Regions from separate parts of the Homo sapiens genome. Here all the other regions are linked to region 3. Evidence: promoter capture Hi-C in 16 types of primary human blood cells and fetal thymus (Javierre and others, 2016). All regions are on one chromosome and are shown on one strand. The core of a region is centred on a gene start or on the middle of the fragment in contact, and the rest is flanking DNA. Distances in the headings are between cores, read along the strand shown. Region 1 has its middle 86 kb from the start of SIRPG. Region 2 has its middle 120 kb from the start of SIRPA. Region 3 holds the start of NSFL1C (NSFL1 cofactor).

The links. The method cuts DNA at HindIII sites, captures the fragments that hold promoters and counts their contacts. A CHiCAGO score of 5 or more calls a contact.
Region 1: a contact is called between a fragment that was not itself captured here and the fragment with the promoter of NSFL1C in region 3, in 1 of 17 cell types (total CD4 T cells). The highest score is 5.2, in total CD4 T cells.
Region 2: a contact is called between a fragment that was not itself captured here and the fragment with the promoter of NSFL1C in region 3, in 2 of 17 cell types (activated CD4 T cells and total CD4 T cells). The highest score is 7.5, in activated CD4 T cells.

Annotation. Positions count from the first base shown.
Region 1 is chr20:1,742,340-1,745,357 of GRCh38, forward strand. No RefSeq gene overlaps it. Among named protein-coding and RNA genes, the nearest start is that of SIRPG, 86 kb to the left of the region's middle. The HindIII fragment of the contact is 2,674 bases long and covers 318-2,991 here.
Region 2 is chr20:1,777,757-1,780,834 of GRCh38, forward strand. It overlaps the pseudogene LOC100289473. Among named protein-coding and RNA genes, the nearest start is that of SIRPA, 120 kb to the right of the region's middle. The HindIII fragment of the contact is 6,303 bases long and covers 1-3,078 here.
Region 3 is chr20:1,465,451-1,468,344 of GRCh38, forward strand. It overlaps NSFL1C (NSFL1 cofactor), which reads right to left and starts at 1,399. Exons shown (of 9, transcript NM_016143.5): 1 at 1,270-1,399. The coding sequence starts at 1,374. RefSeq lists an enhancer at 628-1,129 and a silencer at 1,424-1,693. The HindIII fragment of the contact is 14,006 bases long and covers 670-2,894 here.

The DNA.
Region 1 (3,018 bases), core at 405-2,904, 280 kb after region 3:
ACCAATAACAGGAGCTGAAATTGTGGCAATAATCAATAGTTTACCAACCAAAAAGAGTCCAGGACCAGATGGATTCACAGCCGAATTCTACCAGAGGTACAAGGAGGAACTGGTACCATTCCTTCTAAAACTATTCCAATCAATAGAAAAAGAGGGAATCCTCCCTAACTCATTTTATGAGGCCAGCATCATTCTGATACCAAAGCCGGGCAGAGACACAACCAAAAAAGAGAATTTTAGACCAATATCCTTGATGAACATTGATGCAAAAATCCTCAATAAAATACTGGCAAACCAAATCCAGCAGCACATCAAAAAGCTTATCCACCATGATCAAGTGGGCTTCATCCCTGGGATGCAAGGCTGGTTCAATATACGCAAATCAATAAATGTAATCCAGCATATAAACAGAGCCAAAGACAAAAACCACATGATTATCTCAATAGATGCAGAAAAAGCCTTTGACAAAATTCAACAACCCTTCATGCTAAAAACTCTCAATAAATTAGGTATTGATGGGACGTATTTCAAAATAATAAGAGCTATCTATGACAAACCCACAGCCAATATCATACTGAATGGGCAAAAACTGGAAGCATTCCCTTTGAAAACTGGCACAAGACAGGGATGCCCTCTCTCACCGCTCCTATTCAACATAGTGTTGGAAGTTCTGGCCAGGGCAATCAGGCAGGAGAAGGAAATAAAGGGTATTCAATTAGGAAAAGAGGAAGTCAAATTGTCCCTGTTTGCAGACGACATGATTGTTTATCTAGAAAACCCCGTTGTCTCAGCCCAAAATCTCCTTAAGCTGATAAGCAACTTCAGCAAAGTCTCAGGATACAAAATCAATGTACAAAAATCACAAGCATTCTTATACACCAACAACAGACAAACAGAGAGCCAAATCATGAGTGAACTCCCATTCACAATTGCTTCAAAGAGAATAAAATACCTAGGAATCCAACTTACAAGGGATGTGAAGGACCTCTTCAAGGAGGACTACAAACCACTGCTCAAGGAAATAAAAGAGGATACAAACAAATGGAAGAACATTCCATGCTCATGGGTAGGAAGAATCAATATCGTGAAAATGGCCATATTGCCCAAGGTAATTTACAGATTCAATGCCATCCCCATCAAGCTACCAATGACTTTCTTCACAGAATTGGAAAAAACTACTTTAAAGTTCATATGGAACCAAAAAAGAGCCCGCATCGCCAAGTCAATCCTAAGCCAAAAGAACAAAGCTGGAGGCATCACACTACCTGACTTCAAACTATACTACAAGGCTACAGTAACCAAAACAGCATGGTACTGGTACCAAAACAGAGATATAGATCAATGGAACACAACAGAGCCCTCAGAAATAACGCCACATACCTACAACTATCCGATCTTTGACAAACCTGAGAAAAACAAGCAATGGGGAAAGGATTCCCTATTTAATAAATGGTGCTGTGAAAACTGGCTAGCCATATGTAGAAAGCTGAAACTGGATCCCTTCCTTGCACCTTATACAAAAATCAATTCAAGATGGATTAAAGATTTAAACGTTAGACCTAAAACCATAAAAACCCTAGAAGAAAACCTAGACATTACCATTCAGGACATAGGCGTGGGCAAGGACTTCATGTCCAAAACACCAAAAGCAATGGCAACAAAAGCCAAAATTGACAAATGGGATCTAATTAAACTAAAGAGCTTCAGCACAGCAAAAGAAACTACCATCAGAGTGAACAGGCAACCTACAACATGGGGGAAAATTTTCGCAACCTACTCATCTGACAAAGGGCTAATATCCAGAATCTACAATGAACTCAAACAAATTTACAAGAAAAAAACAAACAACCCCATCAAAAAGTGGGCGAAGGACATGAACAGACACTTCTCAAAAGAAGACATTTATGCAGCCAAAAAATACATGAAAAAATGCTCATCATCACTGGCCATCAGAGAAATGCAAATCAAAACCACTATGAGATATCATCTCACACCAGTTAGAATGGCAATCATTAAAAAGTCAGGAAACAACAGGTGCTGGAGAGGATGTGGAGAAATAGGAACACTTTTACACTGTTGGTGGGACTGTAAACTAGTTCAACCCTTGTGGAAGTCAGTGTGGCGATTCCTCAGGGATCTAGAACTAGAAATACCATTTGACCCAGCCATCCCATTACTGGGTATATACCCAAAGGACTATAAATCATGCTGCTATAAAGACACATGCACACGTATGTTTATTGCGGCATTATTCACAATAGCAAAGACTTGGAACCAACCCAAATGTCCAACAATGATAGACTGGATTAAGAAAATGTGGCACATATACACCATGGAATACTATGCAGCCATAAAAAATGATGAGTTCATGTCCTTTGTAGGGACATGGATGAAATTGGAAACCATCATTCTCAGTAAACTATCGCAAGAACAAAAAACCAAACACCGCATATTCTCACTCATAGGTGGGAATTGAACAGTGAGATCACATGGACACAGGAAGGGGAATATCACACTCTGGGGACTGTGGTGGGGTCGGGGGAGGGGGGAGGGATAGCATTGGGAGATATACCTAATGCTAGATGACGAGTTAGTGGGTGCAGCGCACCAGCATGGCACATGTATACATATGTAACTAACCTGCACAATGTGCACATGTACCCTAAAACTTAAAGTATAATAAAAAAATAAAAAATAAAAATAAATTAAAAAAAAAGAGAAACAATGATTATGACAAAAGAAGATGTTAGAGAAGGAAAATGGAAAAACTTGAGTAGAAATGTACACACAAGTGCTCCCCATTCTGGTCTCATGCTTCTAAACAGCCTTTTCCCTGAAAGCCTTCCAAACTAGTTCTGCTTGGGCAAGATGTATGTCTAAATTCTTTTGCTTTTATCAGTTGTCAAGAACATAATGTTGAGTTCAAAGGATAACCAAACCTTGAATCTGATTAGCTTTTATTCCATTCTCACTTGCAAAAATCATGAACTAAGCTTTATTTAGCCCTTCACTGGGATA
Region 2 (3,078 bases), core at 365-2,864, 310 kb after region 3:
CATCCCACACCAGCCAGAATGGCTATTATTAAAAAGTCAAAAAATAACAGAGGCTGTACACCAAACTGCCCCCAACACAGTTTACCTATGTAAAAACCTGCACATGGGCCCAGACCTAAAACCAAAGTTAAAAAAATAATAATAAGATAATATAAAAATACTCAAAAAAGAGAGAAAGTGAAGAGGACAAGGAAAAAGAGAAGGATGGAAGGAGAAGGAAAGTGAGGGGGAAAAGGAAAGGGAAAGGAGGAGGAGGATCTGTTTGACCCCGTGTAAGGGCCTGTCCTGACCCCATGTAAGGGTCTGTCCTGACCCCGTGTAAGGGCCTGCCCTGACCCTACGTAAGGCCGTGCATGGACCCTCTTTTCCAGCTGAATTCAGAATTCTGGCCTCTGTTTAAAGTTGCCATCCAGAAACTTTCAACTGTGCCAGTCTTGATTAATAGCCTTTCTAGAAGGCACTTTGGTGCTCAGCAGTCCTTAACCTCTGCCATTTCTTGCAGTCAAGTGTTAAGGTGGAGAACTTTCAACATCAAGAATGCATGGAATTAGGGAAGGGGAGTCCCACCCTTTCTTCTTGGGGAGGGTGTGGAGGAAGGCGTGAGAAGTGGAGTCTGGGGGCGAATGTGTGAGAGTTGTATCACCAGCTGCGGGTATCCTTCCTTCCTTCACCATCATCCAATGCCGCCCTGAGTCTCTGACCCTCCCCAGCCGTGCTGCCCACAGGGGATGTCCAGAGGGGCTGGGCCAGAGGCTGTACCCACCTTTCCCCTGCCTGCGCACCTGGGCTTGCAGGGTGACGTTGGCCTTGAGTGGGGGCTGCTCATCGTGGACCACCCAGCAAGCAAACTCACGCTCCTCCAGCGTGGCCTCTGCCTGCCACGTGTGCTCCAGAGAGTATGTCCCATCTGGATTTCTGGTGGCCTGAGGGGACGAGGGGACACCAGGGTCTGGATCATGCTCCTGTTCTCCATCCAGGTGAGTCGCAGGTGGGCGGGATAGAAGTGGAGGACGTGGCAGGTGAGATTCACTCTGTCTTGCACATGTACATGGGTCCCAGAGGTTTCAGTGGTGATCTTCAGGGTGGGGACAACTAGACAGAGGAATAGGAAGTAAGACCTGGTGAAATCAGCCCCTGCCTGTGGCCACCCATGCTTCCCTCTCCCAGGGAACAGCCTCAAGGTCTCTCGCCTTTTTTTAAAGAAATATTTTTTTCTTGTATGCGTAATGTAAAGCAAATAGGGCTAAATGTTAATATTCATTAAATATGGGTAAGGGTACCTGGGTGTCTGCTATATTCTGTATTTTTGAAATATTTCATATCAGAAAATATAATTTTAAGAATTAGTAAAAGGTGATGCCCATGACGACAGGGACTTTATTTTGCTCGTTGCTGCATCCCCAGCACTGAGCACAGGGTCTGGCATACAGTGGATATTCATTATTATTAAATGAATAATAAACATTTAAAAAAAAAACTGTAACAATGACATTAATAGAACAAAGATGTTTAGAAAGGGAGTCTGGGACCAGATAATAACAAGATCAAACATTCGTAAGTAAGTCACTGCATGCCAGGCACTGTTATGTGTGTTTTATAAGGAATAATTCATTTAATCTTCACAGGACAGCTATGAAGTAGGTCCTCATTTTTTTCCTGTTATATAAAGAAACTGGTATTAAATAGTCAAGTAACTCACAAGATCCCACAAGTTGTAAAGTGGCACAGCTAGGATTAAAACCCAGACAGCGAGCCCCTGGAACCTGCGCTTATAACCACAATACACATGATCAGAAATCCATGAGGAATTTCATTTCCCCATTTATGAAATGAGGCTTTGGGCAAAAACCCTGAAAGCTGGATGCTTCCAGGGTTAATGTCCACCCCACCTGACTGCCCATTCACCTCAGAGCACTTGGGAGAGATTCATGGTTGTTTTCAGGGGCTCTGCCAGGGCCCTGTGGGTGACTTCGCAGGTGATCTCAGATGAGACATCCTGTCGGGTCAGTGTCACCCATGCCTTGCTGGTGATGAAGTCATTGCCTCCATTGTCAGGCACCAGGCGCTGAGCTGAGGCTGGATGTTCATCACTGTCCTTCAACCACGTAACATTGAAGTCCCGGGAGAAGTCCTGGGAGTTGAAGGGGACAGCAGTACAGTTGAAAGGCACTGAGTCTCCAGGGCTTGTCCTGTGAGATGGACCAGTCAGAGAGATGAAGGGCTGTCCAGCTAAGGAAAGAGCAATTGTGATTGTACACTGAGAGTGGGACACACCCCACAGGCACCAGTGGCACCAGAGCTGTGTCAGGCCCTGGGGGCCTACTATATGCTGTGTCTGATTCTGTCTTCAGGCAGCATATCGGCATTTGATCATAAGAAAACAAGCAAATGCAAATGTGATTATGACTGATCCCAGTGCCATCAAGGAAACCCAAAGACTGCATAGATGGAGAATACAGGGAGGACTTATTCTAGAAGGGCAGCTGGGGAAGAATTACTTGAGGAGGTGACATCATTGAGCTGAAACTCAGGAATGAATAGGAGCCAGCAATGGGAAGGGACAGAGGAAGGACATTCCAGACAGCGGGGACAGCAGGAGAGAAGGACCTCAGGCAGGAAGGGCTTGGTGGGCTTGAGAAACTGAGAAGTCTGTAGGGGACCCTAGTGTCATGGCAAAGAGGTCCAGAGTGAGAAGAGCCTGGGGACCATGGTGATGATCTTGATTCTATTCTGAGAGTGATGGGAAACCAGCAGAGACTTTAACAGAGGGGCAAAGTGGTCTGATGTACATTTTTTAGAGGATAACTGGGGTTGTTGTGTGGAGAATGGGAAGGAGCGTGGCAGGAATGGAAGCAGGGAGACCAGTGGGGAAGCTGGTACAGACCTCCAGGCCAAGGTGATGGTAGCCTGGACTAGGGTGGTGAGAAAAGGAGGCTCGAGACACATTTGGAAGATACAGCCCACAGGACTCAGTGATGGGCGGGATGGGGGGTGAGGGACAGAATGAATTCTGGATCAACAATTCCCAGGTTTTCTCTAGAGCAGCTGTGTGGGTGGTAGCTCTACTTTTTGAGCTGG
Region 3 (2,894 bases), core at 149-2,648:
GTTGGTCACAACACTGTGTGCTTTTAGGTCTTTCAGGTAGAAACTTTTTATTTCTGCCCAGCATAGGGGCTTCCCATTGTGTCTAGGTGTGATCTAGGTGTGATGCTTTACCGAATTCTTATGTTTGGGGAGTAATTTACGTTTGGCAGCAGACTCAGTTCAAATTCCAACCCCGCTACTTACTGGCTATGTGACCCTGAGCAAATTCTTTGCCCTCTGTGCTTCCAATTCCTCATCCATAAAATGGGTCTAGTCTTTACCTCATAGTGTTGCTAGGATCCAACGAATCATATTATGTAAAGTGCTTGGCACATGGTGGTTTAAAGCTTGGGCTCTGTCTGCTTGCAATCAGACAGAACTGGGTTCCACTTCTACCTCTTCTGCCTGGTAGCTAGTGAGGCCTTGAGCAAGTTACTTAACCTCTTTAATCTCAGCTGCAAAATGCGAAGGTTAAATGACAAAAGACATGTAAAGCAGTCAGAACAGCGCTTGGCTCATGGTAGGTACTCAATAAATATTAGTCATCACCGTCATCATCTACCTAAGACGAAGCTGGCCAAGAATATTTATGCAATTCTTTCTACAGTTAATTACCGAATGCTTATTATGTGCCAGGCATTGTTCCAGGCACTGGGAATTCATCAGTGTACAAAAATCCCTGCCTCGTGAAGCTTAAGTCTTCTTAGCAAGTATTTAGTGAATACTCAGTACGTGCCAATGAACTACACAGCAATTTCCACGAGACTCCCATTTTACAGATAAGTTAACTACGCAAGGTGAAGAAGCTCCAACCTTGCGCCACCACCCCAGAGGTATTCTCCCAGCAATTAGGAAGGCTGGGCGGCGGTCAACTCCCGGGCTGGACTTCGGAAGTGGAAATGAGCGGCCACCTAGTCCCGAGTGGGGCTTCACCCAAGAGCTGCTCACTCGGACCAGCCCGGCCTCCAGCAGATACTCGGCGCGGCAGCCACGCCCCCAGGCGCTCCCTCTCCTCGCCGGCTGCCGCAGCGCCCGAAGTCTCGCTGACGCCGCAAGCGGGCGAGGCAGGGTGAAACTGGCACGGCAGAACTGGCTGGGGCTGGCCCGCGTTCCCCCACTCCCAAGCCGAGCAGGCGACGCGTGACAAGCGGTCCCGGGACCATGAGGCCTGGGTCGGGCCGCGGTAGAGCGGGGATGACTGTGCGCTTCGGCCGCCGCGGGCTTAAGGCACCAGGCGCCCGCTCCCAGCAGTCCCCGGCCCACCCGACACAGCCCGCCGCGCGGCGCTACCTGCAAGTCCCAGCCGGCCGACTCGAGAAAGAAGCGGGCCCGGTCCTCCTCGGCGCCCGTCACCGCCACGAACTCCCTCAGCGCCTCCTGTCGCTCCGCCGCCATCTTCGCCCCGTGCGCCTTCCAAAGCGCTCCGGCGGCCGCCGCACAGGCCCAGCCCCGCTGCCGCGTTCCGCTTGCCGGTCGACGAGGCCCAGCCGATGAGGGCCCAGCAGCTGGGAGCCCGCCCGCAGCCCCGCCCCACGCGGTGCCTCACGCAAAGCCCTCCGTGCGGGAAGCCCCGCCGCTCCGCGCCCTCTGGCGACCGCGGCGCGAACCGCAGCCTAACGGCGGGGGTGGGAGCCCGAAGGATGAGAGGCGGGGCGGGTCTTACATACACCTGTGGGCTGAAGGCTCCCTGCAGGAGTCAGATTCCCAGTTATTCATTGACGCAGCCCTCATTTCATTAATTGTGCATTCGTTCATTCACTTACTTGTCAAGCATTTACTGAGAGCTATCAATGGCCCGACGTTTTTCTAGGGCTGTGGATATGGCAGGGAGCAAAACAAAGTCCCTGCTCCCATGCTTCTTACATTCTAGGGGTAAAAATTCAGACCTTGAACAGGCTAGGCCTCCGCTCACAACACGTCCATGCCTCGTTATCTCGCCCCGCATAAAAGACAGTCTCATGGCCTGCCTGCAGGACCCATGAGAGATGGGCCAGTTCCTCCCTCTCATCAAGGGATCCGCTAGCTTCCTCTGCTCCAGGCGCCTTGCCCTCCTTGCTGTTCCTGGAACTTGCCAGTTATCTTGCATTTGCCTCAGGGCCGTTGCATTAGCTGCTTCTGTGCCTGGAGCACCTTTCCCTTACCGATGGGCAAGGCGCTCTCCCCGCTTTCTTTGGGCCTCTGCTCCAAGGCCACTTTCTTAGGCACAATCCTGTCTTCTGGGTCCTCAGCTTCTTTGCCCTCTTGCCTCTCCAAAGAGGAACTTACTTGTTCAGCTTACTTGTTCTTTGTTCTCTATTTTCAAAGCCTAACTTCCTTGTTCTTTGTACCTCCTTACCCCTAGTTACGGTAAACAACCTTCCCGCGGGTCCTAATCTATAACTCACATCTGTTCCCTTGGATACCCTCGCTACAATTGCCATTCCCGCGGAAACTCTTCTTCCTGCCGAAACCGCTTGCCCTACCACTGTAGCCCACATTTCTGCTCCATTTGAACTAGCCAATCGGGATTAGCTTAGATTGCGCAGTCCAGCCCCAGCCAATGGGAACAGGACACAGAAGCAGCGACTAACCGCATTAGGGATAAAAACCCCTTCTCTCTTTTGTTCGGTGTGCTTTCCTGAAGACCAGATGTGTGAGTGGCACCCTTCTGCAGAAGTAAATTGGCTTTGCTGAAAAATCTTTTATTTCAGTGCTGGTTTTCCTTGAGACTTCGAGCTTTAATTTCCAACACCACCGTGGGACACTCTTCCCTTCCTCTTCCTCTGTCGGCCCCTGCTCATTCTTCAGCTCTCAGTTCAGGTGTCCCTTTCTCAAGGAGACCTTGAGAAGGTGCCCAGGCTTAGTCAAAACCCCTCTTAATCAGGTTATGAACAGCACAAAGTCCAGTCTTCCCTCAATTGACACAATAGTTGCTT